Linked DNA regions of Homo sapiens: all the other regions are linked to region 2. Evidence: promoter capture Hi-C in 16 types of primary human blood cells and fetal thymus (Javierre and others, 2016). All regions are on one chromosome and are shown on one strand. The core of a region is centred on a gene start or on the middle of the fragment in contact, and the rest is flanking DNA. Distances in the headings are between cores, read along the strand shown.

Region 1 (3,877 bases), core at 710-3,209, 170 kb after region 2:
CTTTAGTGTTGTGGGTGTTTCAGGGTGGAGCTCAGGATGGGGAATGAACATTATTCATCTTCATATTCTCAAGACCTAGTGAGGAATCTCCAACCCTGGGCTCAGGAGATCCTCCCACCTCAGCCTCCCAAGTAGCTGGGATTATAGGTGCGTGCCACTGTGACCAGTCCAAGTGAGAGTCTCAATTCTCAAATGGTGTGTAAGGAGAGGAGCATAGATTTGTGGTCACAGAGACCTGGAATTCCACCCCAGAGCTGTTGTTGGCCAGCTGTGTGATTGTGCAGCAGTGATCACTATTGAGTGCTGTGTGTGCTGAGTATTCTGGCTGTATTAGTCCATTCTCATATTGCTACAAAGAAATACCCAGAGCTGGGTAATTTATAAAGAAAAGAGGTTTATTTGGCTCACGGTTCTGTGGCAGTACAGGAAGCATAATGCTGACATCTGCTCAGCTTCTAGGGAGGCCTCGGAGTTTTACTCATGGCAGAAGGTGAAGGGGCAGCAGGCACGTCACACAGTGAGAGCAGAAGCAAAAAGCCAGGGTGCTACACACTTTTATGACCAGATCTCACGAGAACTCACTGTCACGAATACAGCACCAAGCCATGAGGGATCTGCCCCCCGTGATCCAAATGCCTCCCACCAGGCCCCACCTCCAGCATCGGGGATTACAATTCAACATGAGATTTGGACAGGGACAAATTTCCAAACTATATCACTGGCTCTCCCACTTCTGGAGAATTAGGAAGGATGGTTGGGTAGGATCATATGACTAGCTCTGACCAATGAGGATGGAGCAGAAGTGAGCTCCTTCAGAGGTCTCTTTCCTACTCTGGTAATGACCGAATAACTGCTCCAGACAGAGCTGCTCCATCAGCCTGGAGCCTGGAGTGGCAGCGTTGTGGGGGCTCCTTGGGAAGAACACTCTAGACGGAGACTAACGTGTGAAGTTTACCAGGCTGTGTTCTCAGTACCTGCACTCACGTGGGAGGAAGAAAGCCCAACTGGGCAGACAGAGGAGTGGGCTCCACAAAGAGCTCTGAGACTTGTGGTCCTTCAGTCATGTCCCAAGTTGCAGCAATAATCTGGGCTTTTATACCCTCATGTCAACAGCTCACTGGATGTGAGCTACCCCTATGGAAGGGGAGAGGTAATTCCAGCACTTTGGGAGGCTGAGGTGGGTGAATCGCTTGAGCCCAGGAGTTTGAGACCAGCCTGGGCAACAGGGCGAAACCCCATCTCTATAAAAAATACAAAAAAATTAGCTGGTGGTGCAAGCCTGTAGTCCCAGTTACTTGGGAGGCTGAGCTGGGAGGATCACTTGAGCCTGGGAGTTCGAGACTGCAGTGAGCTGTGATTGTGCCACTGCACTCCAGCCTGAACAATACAGCAAGACCCTATCTCAAAAAAAAAAAAAAAAAAAAAAAAAAGGAAAGAAAGAAAGAAAAAGAAAGAAAGGGAGGTGATCTTGGGTGAGAGGGAGCTCTTCATCCGAGGGTAATTCCTACAGAGGGCTGACAGCTGAGGGCCATGGGGGAACTCTAGCAGCTGGGGGAATATAACAGAGGCATGCAGGAGTTTTCTAAGCCAGCGATTAACTGCAGCCATCATTAAAAATTAAATTATGTAAATTTATAGCTAAACACATTTTATTAAAAACAAAGGAAAGAAATACCCCAAACCCACCACTTCTTGTTTTATTGCATTTTACTACTCTCTAAGTTTTTGAATGTATTTATGTCCATTGTATCTGTAAGATGGAAATATTACATAACAGTGTGTGAACACACACTTCTTTCCCTGTTCTGCATGCAGTGACCTCACTGTGCAAGCTTGACATTGGCCATTTCGGAAGCATTTATACCACCAAAAATGGGCAAACACTACAAATCAGGTCTCTATGAATTGTTTGGGTTCTTGTATAGACGTGAGAAAGCAATAGAAGAAAAAGCAAATTAAACTGAAAAGTGTCATATTGGTAGCTGTTACATTGTGAATAGCAAAAAAACATTATAGAGTCATTCATTGGAACTCTAGGTGGGCTATGGATGTCAGAGTTGTATAATAAAAATCAACAAAAGCTTTCCGTGAGAATCATTTGGCTATAGACAATTTTCAATAAAGAGTTTGTATATTTTATTACTATTTATAAACTGTGTACAATACATCTTTTATCAGTAAAATTTATAATAAAGATATGTATACACACATGCGTGTTCGTGCACACACACACACACACACACACAGACACTGTCTACCCTCACAGAACTGTTATTAATCATTCACCAACACATCACTGGGGACTATATTGGTCCTTCTTCCTTATGGGGTTGTCTCAGCAGTGGAGGAACCTGTCCACTAGAGAAGGTGGCCTGGAACAGAGTCACTGTCAAGCCCTGATGGACATTTAGTTTGAGTGAGAGCTAATCTTATGGTCTCTGTTATTTCACCCCACTGAGATTTTTGGGATTGTTTGTTATAGCAGCATAACCTAGCCTATGCTGACTGATACACTTAAGTAAAGGCACTTAATTCACTGGGTCATAGTTTCTTCACAATAGTTCCTTGTAGGGTTTCAGAGAGAACCAGAGGTGATGTCTATGTTTTCTTTGGCATTCAGTGGGCACTAATAATCTCAGCTGTTTTCATCGATAGCAGTGTCTTAGTACATGACTCATATTGATTTGTTTACCTGATGGGAAATTCCTACAAGCCATCTTTGTACAGTTGGACATGAGGACACAGCTCTTTGTCTCTATCTCTCTCTCTCTCTCCTCTGTCTACATTCTCTCCACCGTTCTCTGTGTCTTTCTCTGCATTTATGTCTGGGTCCAAATCACAATCCAGAGGACTGAACCAAAGGCCACCAGTCTCAGCTGGGATGGGCAGCTCTTCGGGATCCTGGGGTGTTCACTGCCCAGTTATTGTGGCTGCAGTGGCTCTGTCCCTTGGTCTCCTGAGTGGAATAAAATTCAACCCCAAGGAACAGTGGTAGAGGAGGACTATAAAGGTTAATGTCCTGAGAAATAGCCTGGAGGTAGCGGCAGCAGGCAGGAATAACAATTTTAATACAAAATAAAAACGGGTGGATGAATTGCTGCAAGGCCTGGTGGTGCCTTGCACAGGTCTGAGCAGCACACACAGCAGCTGGGGCCAGAGGCTGGGGGAGAGTCGGTCACTGAACCTCAGCCTCTGACGGGCACACTGGCACCCTGGGTGATTGTACGCTGCAGCCAGCATAGAATTGAGGATTCTATTCTAATTCCTATTGAATTAGAATAGAGGATTGAGGATTCCTATTCTAATCATTTTAGTTGGTACAATAGGCATAATATGTGTGTCTCAAGAGGCTGCTGTGAGGATGAGGTATGGCGTTTAATAACTTATTAAAGGCCTGTCAGGAGGGGACCCATTAAATAATGATGCATCCATAACTGTTAACAATTATGAGACAGATTTATACCTATTGTTATGGCACAATGGCCAATAAATATTAAGGGGCAAAGCAAGATGGTGCAAGTCCTCATGGTGTGTCTCCTTTGAGGAGGGGAGTTTGAGGGTATATTAACGTATGCTCTGTTACAGTGGGGACGAGAAATGGGAACTGGTGGCCGAGTGAGGTGGGAAGTTAATCTTTTGACTATATGTCCTCTGATGCTGCTTCAAATTGTTACTATACACATCTCTCTCTCTCTTTTTTTTTTACCTTTTTGAGACAGGGTCTGGCTCTGTTGCCCAAGCTGGAGTGCAGTGGCACAATCTCGACTCAACGCGACCTCCACCTCCTGGGCTCAAGTCATTCTTCTGCCTCACCCTCCCGAGTAGCTGGGATTACAGGCACGCACCACCACGCCTGGCTAATTTTTGTATTTTTAGT
Region 2 (4,186 bases), core at 1,003-3,502:
GCTAAGTTTTTAAATTTTTTTTGTAGGAACAGGATCTCACTATGTTGCCCAGGCTGGTCTCAAACTCCTGGGTTCAAGCGATCCTCTCTCAGCCTCCCAAAGTGCTGGGATTACAGGTGTGAGTCACTGCGCCCAGCTTGTCACTTCTTTGACAATTCATTTCAGCTCCTTTTTGAACTGGGAGCATTAGAAAACTGAACACCCCCACCCTTGCCCTGGGCATTTTGCAACCGGGATTGTATTGTATTAAACATATCAGTCATTGAGTCACTTCCTAGCATTTGGAAACCCTTAGGTTATCTCGGACCTGCCGGTAACTGCATGTGTTGTAAATGGGGTGAGTGACTGCAGGTTTTCCTCCCTGCTGCCTCCCCAGCGTCTCCCTCCAGATTCAGATCCAGAGGCCCAGGGTGGGGCCCAGGAATCTGCATTGTTGCTTTTACAACTCAAGCCAAGGTGAATACACTGGCCCAAGTTCCTTGGCATGGCATTCAAGGCTTTCCACAATGCAGCCCAGCCCAACTTTCCATCCATCTCTGGCTTCTGCTTACTCCCTAGGTTCTGTACACAGTGCCCTTTCACACTTCCCAGCCTCCGCCCACTCTGTGCCTCCCTTTACCTCCCATCCTCTACCTGCCAGACTCCCCTGCTCTACTCACAAGGCTAGCTCAGGGTCCCTGGGTGCTGGGAAGCCTGGCCCAGTGACCTTTGAAGAGCTGATCCCCTCTGGCTTGTGGTCCTGCAGCCGCTGGTGCATCCGCACCCTCCCAGCCCTCACGTCTGTCTTCCTGCAGAGGGGGTGCTCCTTGAGGCAAGCACCAGTGCCCAGAACACCACCCAGGGCCTCGCAGGAGCTGAATGAGTGCTAGTGAGTGAATGAGTGGCTTAGCAGGTCACCTCCCATTCATGGGCTGGGCTAGCCGAGTTCTAAGAAACCCCTGCAGGACCCTGGAATGCCCTAATGTGCAGGACACCCTGGCCAAACCTACACCTGAGCCTGTTTCCCCATTGGACTTTGGGATTTTGATAAAGGCACTGAGGTCCCAGCAAATGCCTTGGGCTCCTCATAGGCTACTGGGGGCAGGGAAGTGCAGTGGGTCATGCCTCCCAGAGGGCTGGGGAAGGGGAGAGACTAGAACTGGAGCAGGGTTAGCGCTGGCCTGGGGGCATTCCTTGAACCCCAGAAGCAGACAAACTAGTGGTCCCCTATCTTGCTTAAGTCTAAGAAATCCAGATTTTGTTTAAAAAAAAAATCAGGGCTCAGTGGCTCACACCTGTCATCCCAGCATTTTGGGAGGCCGAGGTGGGAGGATCACTTGAGGCCAGCCTGGACAACATAGTGAGACACCATCTTTATAAAATAAATTTTTAAAAATAAAATAAAGATCAGATTCCTGGGTTTACTGAATCTGAATCTCAGGGCAAGGACCTGGGAATCTGCATTTTAAGCAAATCTCCCGGAGATTCTGGTTATTGTGGGGGCTCCTCAAACGTGATTGAGAGATGGAGAGCAGCTGGCTCTGGCGTGGGATTGCCTGGGCTCTAGTCCTGCTGCCCCACGGACTCCCAAGTGGGCGGCACCTTAGGGCAAGTTACTAAAGCGGCTGGGGTCTTGGTGACCTCATCTGTACAATGTCCATGACGCACAGCACCGGCCACAGAGAAGTTAGTGGGAGGTTTCACTTGGCATCCTTTCAGTAAAACAAGTCCCAGTCAATGATCGCGATTATTGGGTCCATCTGATATTCGGAGGCGGAGACCGCCCCGATTCACTGACCTACTACTCAAATTTACAGTTCTCAGAACTTTCCCCACCCTTTCTCTCTCCGAAGTCCTCACTGACTTCCTGAGCGCAGGGCTGGGCGCCACTGCCCGGAGAAGAGGGGCTGCGTGGCCTCCGACAGCCTAACCCCAAGCCCCCCACCCCCGCAGGCCGTCCCGGCGGAGGTCTCACTGCCAGCACCGGCTTTGGGGAGCGCTGGGTGTCCACGTACCCCGGGCCTCGCGCCTCCGCTGCCGTTCGGCGGCAAGGACGGAACCGGGCGCTGCTCCGCGCGCACCGAGAGTCGCGGGCTCGGGCCCCGCTCGGAGTCGGGGTGGTCCCCGTGGTCCCCGCCGGCGGCCGAGCCCTTCCCGAACGCCCTCAGCCGGCGTGCCCGGGCGATACCTTCGCAACCCGATCCGCGCGCGGGCCCCGGATCCTACCTGCGCGCCCCTGCTCCATTCGCCGTCCGGGCGCCCAAGCGGGAAGTGGGGGACCCCTGGGTGGCCCTTCCCTGGCCCGCGCCGCGCGGGGCTTTCCTGGGCGCGGAGACCCAGCCCGCCCCGGCTTCCTGCTCCCCGCCCCGGCGCCCGGCAGATTTGCATGCGCCGCCCCGCCCGGCGCGCCCGGCCCGGGTCCCGGCCACCTCGCGCCCCTGTCGCTGTCCCCGCCGCCGCCGCCGGACAGTCCGAGCCGCCGTCCTCTCCTGGGGGCGACCCCAGCACCTCGCTGGGTGTCTTGCCGCGCGCTTCCTCCCACGCCGTAGCCCGAGGTCACGCCCAGCGGAGAACTCTGCAGTGGATCCCCTTGGTCTCGGAATAAAACGCCCACGCCGACCAGGCCTCCAGGACCTGCTCCTGCCTGGCCTCCGCGGCCTCTTTTGCGCCGGGGCAGTTGCGTTTGGTGGGGGAGGGCTGGGCGACTGGAATCCTCCTCCCCTTCCTAACAGCCCGGCTTCCAAGTGAGAGTGGTTGCACATTCTTCAATAAATGTTTACCCAACTCCTACTCCAGCCACATTTGGATAGTAAAACAGCCCTTCAATCAGTAACTAGTACAATCTGTCGGGCACTGCAAATGTTAACTCGTTCAATCCTGGCAACTACCCTATAAGGGAGTGATACTATCACCGGTTTTACAAATCAGGAAACTGAGGCACAGAGTCCTTAAGAAATTCAAAATGGGTTGGGCAAAGTGGCTCATGCCTGTAATCCCAGCACTTTGGGAAGCTGAGGCGGGAGGATCACTTGAACCCCATAGTTCGAGACCAGCCTGGGCAACCCTGTTAGCGAGACCCCTATCTACAAAAATTGACATTTATAAAATTTTAAAAAAGAAAAGAAAGAAACTCAGAATCACTCTGCAGGTAAGCAGGAGCAGGGGTGGAGCTGGGATTCGAACACAGGCCCCATAGACCATTAACGTCTGGACACCATAAGAACCCGGATGCAGCCAGATGACTGGGGGGAAAACACTCAACAAAGTATTTCAGGTCAGGAGGGCCCAAGAAGAAAGTAGGGACCTCTTAGACCAGTGGGGCAGGTGGTCTGGAAGAGGCTTTTTGAGTAGAGGCCATTTGAGCTGAGACTCTGAAGAGCCTATGGGGGAAGACTTGTGTAGGGAGAGGGAAGAGCTAGTGCAAAGGCCCTGTGGGAACCAGCTCAGCCTGCAGGAGGAATTGCTGAAGGCCGGCATGGCTGTGGAGCCCTGAGTGAGGAAAGAGCGGAGACAGGGGAGGTGGGAGATATTTGGACTCACACTGGGCAGTGCTGAGAACCCAGAGAGTAATTTGACCCCCTGCTGCCCTCAAGGAGCTCTCAGTTTGAGGGTGGAAGCCAAGGACTGCCCAATGGGATCAAGTGCTGTGGTGGAGGGTGAGGGTTGGCTTCCCAGGGCAGGGGCCACTGCACGTCAATCATTCTTTTTTTTTTTTTGAAGATGGGGTCTCATTCCATTGCCTAGGCTGGAGTGCAGTGGGTGATCTCAGCTCACTGCAACCTCCACTTCCTGAGTTCAAGCAATTCTCCTGCCTCAGCCTCCTGAGTAGCTGGAATTACAAGCGTGCACCACCACGTCCGGCTCATTTTTGTATTTTTAGTAGACATGAGGTTTCACTATGTTGGCCAGGCTGGTATCAAACTCCTGACCTCAGGTGATCTGCCTGCCTCTGCCTCCCGAAGTGCTGGGATTACAGGTGTGAGCCACCACGCCTGGCCCATATGTCAATCATTCTTTCATGTACTTGGTCTGTCTTGGTCCTACTGTGTGTCTAACCTTGTGACAAGCGCTGATGACGCAGACCTGAAGACATGAAACAGACACAATCCCTGCCCTCTGAGACCTTACAACCAAGTGAGCAAGACAGCCACCAACCCACCCCCGGAAGTGACAGTAAAGATAAGTCAGTTCCCTGGGGTCAGGGATG
Region 3 (4,167 bases), core at 1,402-3,901, 200 kb after region 2:
CTGTTGTGAACATGTGGCCCCCACTTGGGAAATATTATCTTTGAAAAACTTTTTTTTTTTTTTTTTTTTTTGAAATGGAGTCTCATTCTCTTGCCCAGGCTGGAGTGCAGTGGTGCTATCTCAGCTCACTGCAACCTCTGCCCTCTGGGTTCAAGCAATTCTCCTGCCTCAGCCTCTCAAGTAGCTGGGATTACAGGTGCACGCCACCATGCCCGCCTAACTTTTGTATTTTTGGTAGAAATGGAGTTTTGCCATGTTGACCATGCTGGTCTCGAACTCCTGACCTCAAGTGATTTGCCCGCCTCAGCTTCCCAAAGTGCTGAGATTACAGGCGTGAACCACCACGCCCGGCCTTTCTTTGAAAAACTTTTGACTAATGTTGGGCCTTCTCAGTTGGGACCCTTATTTCCTTTCTCCTACTCTCCTCCCTTACTGTTTCCTATTCTTCTTCCTTCTCTCTTCCTCCTCCCCTCCCCATGCATTCAGCTAATTCCGTCTCTGATTACCCAACATCACTCTGGGCTCTGCTGGAAGACTCAGAGCCTATAAAGCTTCAGAGGGGCCTCAGTGTTATTTTAGTCAGGCAAACTCCACAGGTAGGAGTTACTTCTCCACACCTCTGACAGTGTCACTTGCATACCTGCAGGAATAGGAAACTCGCTTCCTTTCATGGTAGTCCTTTCCATCACTGGGCAGCTCCATCTAAGAGGCACTTTCTCTTGTGATTAATCAGACAACATTTACACCCCCAGTCATTTCTACTCTTCCCCATGCAGAGTTCTTGCAGAATAGCTGTCCCTGATAAGGACAGCCCTTCCGAGGCCCAGGAAGAAGTCTCAAGGCTTCTCAGGCTCATTCAAGTCGCAAGACACACACACACCCAATGGAGGATTCTGGCAACGTACCATGTGGTAGAAATGTCAGTCCACATCTCAGGTGCATGGGAAATATCACTCTCTTTATTCATTCACTTCACACTATGGTTGGGATGTTTGTCTCCTCCAAATCTCATGTTGAAATGTGATTCCCAATGTTAAAGGTGGTGCCTAGTGGGAAATGGGGGCAGATCCCTCATGAATGTCTTGGTGCCCTCCTGGTGGTAATGAGTGAGTTCTCATTCTATTCATGTGAGATCTGGCCGTTAAAAATTTAGAGCCTGGGAAAGATGGTGACCAGAGGCTGCGAAGGGTAGTGGGGGGTGCCGGTTGGTGGCGGGGAGGAGTTGGGAAGGCTAATGAGTACAAAAATAGTTAGAAAGAATGAATAAGGGCCAGGTGCAGTGGCTCATGGCTGTAATCCCAGCACTTTGGGAGGCCAAGGCGGGTGGATCACTTGAGGTCAGGAATTCAAGACCAGCCTTGCCAACATAGTGAAACCCCATCTCCACTAAAAATACAAAAATTAGCCAGGTGTGGTGGTGGGTGCCTGTAGCTCCAGCTACTCAGGAGGCTGATGCAGGAGAATCACTTGAACCTGGGAGGAGGAGGTTGTAGTGAGCTGAGGTCATGCCACTGCATTCCAGCCTGGGCAACAGAGCGAGACTTCATCTCAAAAAAAAAAAAAAAAAAAAAAAAAAAGGAGAATTAGACCTAGTATTTGATAGATTTGATAGCACAACAGTGTGACTATGGTCAATAATAATTTAATTACACATTTATAAATAACTAAAAGAGTGTAATTGGCTTGTTTGTAACACAAAGGATAAATGCTTCCAATGATGGATCCCCCGTTTACCTTGATAGGATTATTATGCATTGCCTGCCTGTATCAAAATCTCTCATGTACCCCATAAATATATACACTACTATGTACCCACAAAAGTTGAAAAATTAAAGGAAGAATAGAGTCTAGGACCTCCCATGTCTCTCTTGCTCCCTCTCATCATGTGACACGTTGGCTCCTCTTCCTCTCTGCCATGATTAAAAGCTTCCTGAGGCCTCACCAGAAACTGAGCAGATGCTGGCACCATGCTTGCACAGCCTGCAGAACCTTGAGCCAAATAAACCTCCTTTCTTTTAATAAATTACCCAGCCTCAGGTATTCCTTTACAGCAATGCAAAATGGACTAACAAAGTTCATAACCATGTTTAATTTGTGTCCATTCTTCCAATCAATTTAGGTTTCCTTACATTCCTTGGGGTTACCCCTAAGTTCGGCAGGGGCGGAGGTCAGGGTGTTGGGGAGGGGACATCCATGATTTTCTGAGATTCTCAGCCAGTCTTTGACGTCAGGCCATGCGTGCTGCTGTGGCGCTGTGTATAACTGCATCCAAGTCTGAGGGATGCTCCTTGCTGCCCTCGAATGCCAACTCCTGGGTGCATTGAGATCAGGTGGGTGCCCATGCTAAGTTCAATGAGATGCACTGGGAAGTTACTGAGCTTTTCTTTCCTTTTCTTTTTCTTTTCTTCCTTTTTTTTTTTCTTGTTTTTTTTGAGGCGGAGTCTCACTCTATCGCCTAGGCTGGAGTGCAGTGGCATCATCTCGGCTCACTGCAACCTCCACCTCCCAGGTTCAAGTGATTCTCCTGCCGCAGCCTCCTGAATAGCCGGGATTACAGGGATGCGCCACCATGCCCAGCTAATTTTTGTCTTTTTAGTGGAGAGGGGGTTTCACCACATTAGCCAGGCTGGTCTCAAACTCCTGACCTCAGGTGATCCACCTGCCTCAGCCTCCCAAAATGTTGGGATTACAGGCATGAACCACCACGCCCAGACAATTACTGAATTTTTCTGAACCCTCCTGAGTCCTTCACCACGTCCACATTGCTCTTACACGCCTGGGACTCCTGCACTGCTCCACACCAGCTTGTGCATGGAGAGCTCTGGAAGCCTCTCCCAGCTACATTAGTCTAGGCACCGCCCCTACCTTCACAGGTCCACCTTCCTCTCCTGATTGGGCTTCAGCCTGGGTGGGGAAGACCCGGGACCCTTTCCCAGGGACCCTTCAGCATCTCATTCTCTTTGCTGCTCTTCAAATCCCTGGCATGGGGCAGGGCAGTGCTGGCTGCCTTACGTGCCTGGGTCTCATTGCTCCTTTCCACGACCCCAGTATGTTGGGTTCCATTTGGGTTTCCTTTTTAATAGATGGCGGAACTGAGGGCCAGAGAGGCAATGGGCATAGCAGAGCCAGGAGTGAAACCCAGGTGTGTCTGAGCCCTGTGCCAAAGCTCTTTCATCAGCACCCAGCTACTTCTCAGGAAGCACAACTGGGGATGTTACTGAAGTGCGAGAATTTGTGGACCCTGAGAGGTGATGTGGAGAGATTTGAGGCAAGAAAGGCCTGATCATAACCTGGAAAAGAGACCCCAGGGCACCCTCTGCCTTCAGGGGTTCCAGAGTGAGTGTCCTCACTCTCTCCAGAGTGAACATAAAGCTTTTTTTAATTCCACAAATATTTATCAAGACCCCTTATGTTCACTACTGCCAGGACTACAGCAGTGAACAAAAAGACTAGTGGAAAAAAAGACTGCCCTTGTGTAAGTAACTCTTTTTTTTTCAAAAGACAAGATCTCACTCTGTTACCCAGGCTGGGAATACAGTGGTGAGATCATAGCTCACTGTAGCCTCCAGCTCCTGGGCTCAAACAATCCTCCCACCTCAACCTCCCATGCAGCTGGGACTACAGGCACACACCACCATGCCTGGCTAATCTTTTTTTTTTTTTTTTGTATTGTTGTAGAGATGGGGTTGTGCTATATTGCCCAGACTGGTCTCAAACTCCTGGGCTCAAGCAATCCTTCTGCCTAAGCCTCCCGAAGCACTGGGATTATAGATGTGAGCCACCATGATGCTTGGCCAGAATCAACATTGCTATAGGTATAAACAGAAACAAACCCACAAAGAACTGAAGAGGTTAATTCTGGATTGGTTATCAGTCAAGTGAAGGATATGGATGAGTGTGTGTGACAGGTGGTCAGGGAAAGCCTCCCTGAAGAGTGACATTTGGGCTGAGACCAGCTGCATAAAGATCTGGGAACAGTGTCCCAAGGTAGATGGAACAGAAAATATGTGGCACTAACGAGGCCACAGGCTTGGTGCAGCTGAGGGACAGAAAGGAGCCAGGTATGGCCAGAGCATAGCAAAGGAGCTGGAAGAGTTGTGTGAGGGGGTTGGGAGCTGGGCAGGGGCTAGAGCATGAGGGTCTTATTGCCAGTTACCGTGCAGGCAG
Region 4 (4,229 bases), core at 1,626-4,125, 150 kb after region 2:
TGAATACTGCCTAGAGCTGTGGTGTTGATGAAACACCTGCGTGCTTGGCACAAGGTAAGTGTGCAAGAAGTGTTTTCTGTTAACATTGTTAATTTTTTATTTTATTTTGTTTTTATCTTTTTTAGAGACACGGTCTTGCTCTGTTACCCAGGCTGGAGTGCAGTGGTGCAATCTTAGCTCACTGTAGCCTCAACCTCCTGGGCTCAAGTGATCCTCCCACCTCAGCCTCCTGAATAGCTGGGACTACAGGCATGTGCCATCTTGCCCACATTACTACCTCTTATCTCTGTTTCTCTCTGTCCACCCACACAGATATGCTTTCTCAGATTTTCTGTTCATGTGGGGACCATGTTTCAGAGCTCCCAAGGTTACAAGTTACTATGCCCAGGTAATTAAAAAATTCTTTTTGGTAGCAATGCGGGTCTCACTATGTTGTCCAGGTTTGTCTCCAACTCCTGGGCTTAAGTGATCTTCCCGCCTCAGCCTCCCAAAGTGCTGGGATTACAGGTGTGAGCCACTGTGTCTGGCCCATTATTAACTAATTAGTGCATCAAACAAATGTGTCAGAAATTCCAGTGGATTCTAAGTGGACATGGGCATGTTGGGATATCCCCAGAACACTAGTAGGTGTGGGCCTACCATCTGCGTTTGCAGGAGGACTGAGAAATATCCAGAAAGCAAAGGCCTTTAGGAGCAGCAAGAAGCAGGGCCTGGAGGAGGATAAGGCAAGTGAGGCATTCAGGGCACAACATTTAAGGAGACCCCACTCTCAGGAGCTGACCCTGCACTTTCACGAGCCTGAGAGTGAGGGCCTCCTTAAATTTTCCATTCTGGGCACCTCCTTGGTCTCACCCTGGCAAGAAAATGGACCTATCCAGCTTGTTCCAGTGATCAGAGCTGGGGCACAGAGTTTTATCATAAGACTCTGTTGCAGCCAGAAGTTACCACAATGATGTTGCAGACATTTGTAATGCAATGTGGTTATGTTGTTTCTTTTTTTCTTTCTTCCTTTTTTTTTTTGAAATGGGATCTTGCTATGTTGCCCAGGCTAGACTTGAACTCCTGGGCTCTAGCGATCCTCCTGCCTCAGCTGCCCGAGTAGCTGGGACTATAGGCATGCATTGCTGCTTCTGGCCAGTGTGGTTTCTTTTGAATAGCTATGAGAAGTCTCTTTATTTAGGAGCTCTGCCTCTCCATGTCAGAAGTCAGGAGTGCTGCTTTGTAGCTTTCCTTGCAGCAGGAGTACAGGACCCAGTTCTCAGGAACAGCGTGAGGAGGGGCCTGGCACTAGCAGTGGGCAGGATAGCTGTAGGGGCCTGGTTGCAGTATTCTTGCAGTGTAATTTGGGGACTTCTGGCTTTGTGGGGTCCAAGCTTGATTCTCTGGTTCTTCTGGAGACTTGATGAATGTCCTTTGATGAATGCCTTTGTGACCTAAAGCCGCCATAGTGGAGTCTGTTGCTGGCAACCAACGACTCTGACTAGGATATGGAGGTGTCTCACGAAAGTTAAGGCAGGAATATCCCTAAGTCTTAAGAAAGGCCTGGAGCTGGGAAGTGGAAAGGTATCAGCATGCCATTTCTCTCTCTTTTTTTGGGGTTGTGGTTGTTGCTGTTTCTTCATTCATCTTTCTTAGGTTGAAAATAAATTTAAAAAAGAAGCACAAGATTTCTTTTTCTTTTTTGAGGGACAGCTTTTGCTATGTTGCCCAGTCTGGTCTTGAATTCTTGGGCTCAAGGAATCTTTTTGCTTCAGCCTCCTGAGTAGCTGTGACTACAGGTGCATGCCACTGTGTCTGGCTTTCTACATCTCATCTCTGTTTCTCTCTGTCCATCCACACAGATACACTTTCTCAGATTTTCTGTTCATATGGAGGCCATATTTCACAGCCCCCAAGGCTACAAGCTTCAACCATTACAGAAATTAGCCCCGTTTATCTTGGCCTCAGCACTAAATTCTTATGAGAAATAAATCTGGTTGGCTCAATTTGGGTCAGTTGGCCATGCCTGGTCTAATCACTGTGTCCAGGGAGTAGAATTACACAGTGCAAATATTTCTGATAAGGTCCCTCCCATTGGCAGTTTCCAGGGAAGGAGAATTGATCCTGAGCTGGAACAGATATCCCCAAGGGTCTACCATAATCAAGAAAATTTCTATAGTTAAAGCCAAAGAGGCTACTCAGCTCTTTCTGGCAGCTCCACCCTGTGGGAGGCTGTCTCATTCCAGGGTTGGAGAGAGCTGAAATTAAAGACAGAAAGAGCAGTTTCAGCAAACACTGGAACACATGGGGCCCAAGTGGCTCTGATATGAGGCCACTGTGACATAGTACATTTTAAAAAATCTGGCTGGGTGCAGTGGCTCATACCTCAAATCCCAGTTATGCAGGAGGCTGAGGTGGGAGGATCATGTGAGGCCAGGAGTTCAGGATCAGCCTGGGCAACACAGAGAGACCCTGTCTCTAAAAACATAAAAAAATTAGTTAGGTGTGGTGTCACACGCCTGTAGTCCTTGCTACTCAGGGAGGCTGAGGCAGGAGGATCAAGTGAGCCCAGGAGTTCAAGGCTGCAGTGGGCTATGATTGCAGTGGGAAGACTCTATCTCTAAAAAAGAAAAACAAACAAACAAACAAATGGTTTTCCTCCCCTACTTCCCTTCCCTGCTGCAGAGCACCACACAGCAGTGATGTCGGGAGGTATGGGGTGATGGGGGGTACCTGGTGAGGTAGCAGCTGATCCCAGGGGGCTCACTTTTCACTTTGTGAGTACATGCAGGTACCCTTTGGGTAATCTCCTAAATACTGATGGTGGAAAAATAGGACTCTTGAGGCCAAAGATTCTTTTAAAAGCAGGGAAATCCAAGTCACTACTGAGAACAAGGCAAGTAGGCCCGGGAGCCCACCCCAGGTGTGATGATCATTTACTCAACATCTGCTGTTTCCCAGGCATGCAGCAGGGATGCTCCACTCTCCTCAAACACCAGGATCCCAGTGCAACTTGCCATTTTGCTTTATCCACAGTAGCGTACAGAGCTGTAAATAGCTGCAGAATTCAAAGCAAGAAGAACAAGAAAATCTTTGGGTCAGTTTTGTAGAAACAAAGTGAAACATAATGTTTCATAGAATACAGGCTACTCTGAGGAAGAAATGCCATGCCCTTTTGAATAAGAGGCTTAACCCATGGGGAGCTCAACACATCAGTGTGGGGGTGGCTCATCCATATGTTACTCAATACTACGGTTTTGTTCTAGGTCTCATTGTCTGCTGCACAGAAAGCCAATCACTGAGACAACAAGTATTGCCATGGAAGAAGGCTTTATTATATTCAATGTTTATACTATTATATTTATCATATATTATTTATATTACATATTACAGGCGATGTCAGCTGGAGAGAGGGAGACAAACCTCAAGTCCATCTCTCCCCTCCAACTAAAGTTAGGGGTTTATATAGTGGGGAAGAAAAACAAGTGGGATAAGGAAGAGAAGCTGGTCAACAGGCAGCAGGCATTTTTTTTTTTTTTTTTGAGACAGTGTTTCCATCTGTTGCCCAGGCTGGAGTGCAATGGCACGATCTCGGCTCACCACCACCTTCGCTTCCTGGGTTCAAAAGAATCTCCTGCCTCAGCCTCCCAAGTAGCTGGGATTACAGGCACCTGCCACCATGTTTGGCTAATTTTTTGTATTTTTTGTAGAGATGGGGTTTCATCATGTTGGCCAGGCTGGTCTCAAACTCCTGACCTCAGGTGATCCACCTGCCTTGGCCTCCCAAAGTGCTGAGATTACAGGCATGAGCCACCATGCCCGGCCCAGACACATCTTATTATACAAATGTCAGTTTATTAAGCTTCAGTTCTATGGGCATCCAGATTGTTGGAAAATGGGGCCAGTTTTGCATATGCAAAGTCCATGCATGTGCAGTGAGAAGCACTGACCCTTCCCTCTTACCTATCTGGGGACCTGCCTGCTGGGAATGGGAGGGTCTGGTGATGTTTCCTCCTGGCAGGTGCCCAGGAGCCTTGGCTTCCATCCTGATGTCTGCCTGCAGCTCTCAGTCACTCCACTTTCTTCTCTGAGTCTCCAAAGTCAACACACACCTTCTATTCCTGGAATTTTAACTGTGCTGACCCTTTGGCTTTTCCCACACTCTTGTTCAACTTCTTCCCACTCATTCTTCAAGACTCCTCCTCCAGCATTCTTTCTGTGGCAGACACTTGAAATTACCTACCCAATAT

Evidence for each region. The method cuts DNA at HindIII sites, captures the fragments that hold promoters and counts their contacts. A CHiCAGO score of 5 or more calls a contact.
Region 1: a contact is called between a fragment that was not itself captured here and the fragment with the promoter of IL4R in region 2, in 8 of 17 cell types (naive CD8 T cells, total CD4 T cells, activated CD4 T cells and 5 more). The highest score is 9.8, in naive CD8 T cells.
Region 3: a fragment that was not itself captured here is called in contact with the fragment with the promoter of IL4R in region 2 in 1 of 17 cell types (total B cells); the score reaches 5.1 in total B cells.
Region 4: a fragment that was not itself captured here is called in contact with the fragment with the promoter of IL4R in region 2 in 6 of 17 cell types (non-activated CD4 T cells, naive CD8 T cells, total CD4 T cells and 3 more); the score reaches 7.6 in non-activated CD4 T cells.

The regions. Positions count from the first base shown.
Region 1 is chr16:27,144,450-27,148,326 of GRCh38, reverse strand. No RefSeq gene overlaps it. Among named protein-coding and RNA genes, the nearest start is that of LINC02129, 30 kb to the left of the region's middle. The HindIII fragment of the contact is 249 bases long and covers 1,835-2,083 here.
Region 2 is chr16:27,312,040-27,316,225 of GRCh38, reverse strand. IL4R (interleukin 4 receptor) reads right to left here and starts at 2,252. Exons shown (of 11, transcript NM_000418.4): 1 at 2,206-2,252. RefSeq lists silencers at 1,512-1,561, 2,002-2,211, 2,232-2,531 and enhancers at 2,309-3,039, 3,862-4,186. The HindIII fragment of the contact is 16,225 bases long and covers 1-4,186 here.
Region 3 is chr16:27,114,081-27,118,247 of GRCh38, reverse strand. No RefSeq gene overlaps it. Among named protein-coding and RNA genes, the nearest start is that of C16orf82, 49 kb to the right of the region's middle. The HindIII fragment of the contact is 1,446 bases long and covers 1,929-3,374 here.
Region 4 is chr16:27,162,453-27,166,681 of GRCh38, reverse strand. The region is part of intron 2 of LINC02129 (long intergenic non-protein coding RNA 2129); the gene reads left to right. Among named protein-coding and RNA genes, the nearest start is that of LINC02129, 12 kb to the left of the region's middle. The HindIII fragment of the contact is 1,937 bases long and covers 1,907-3,843 here.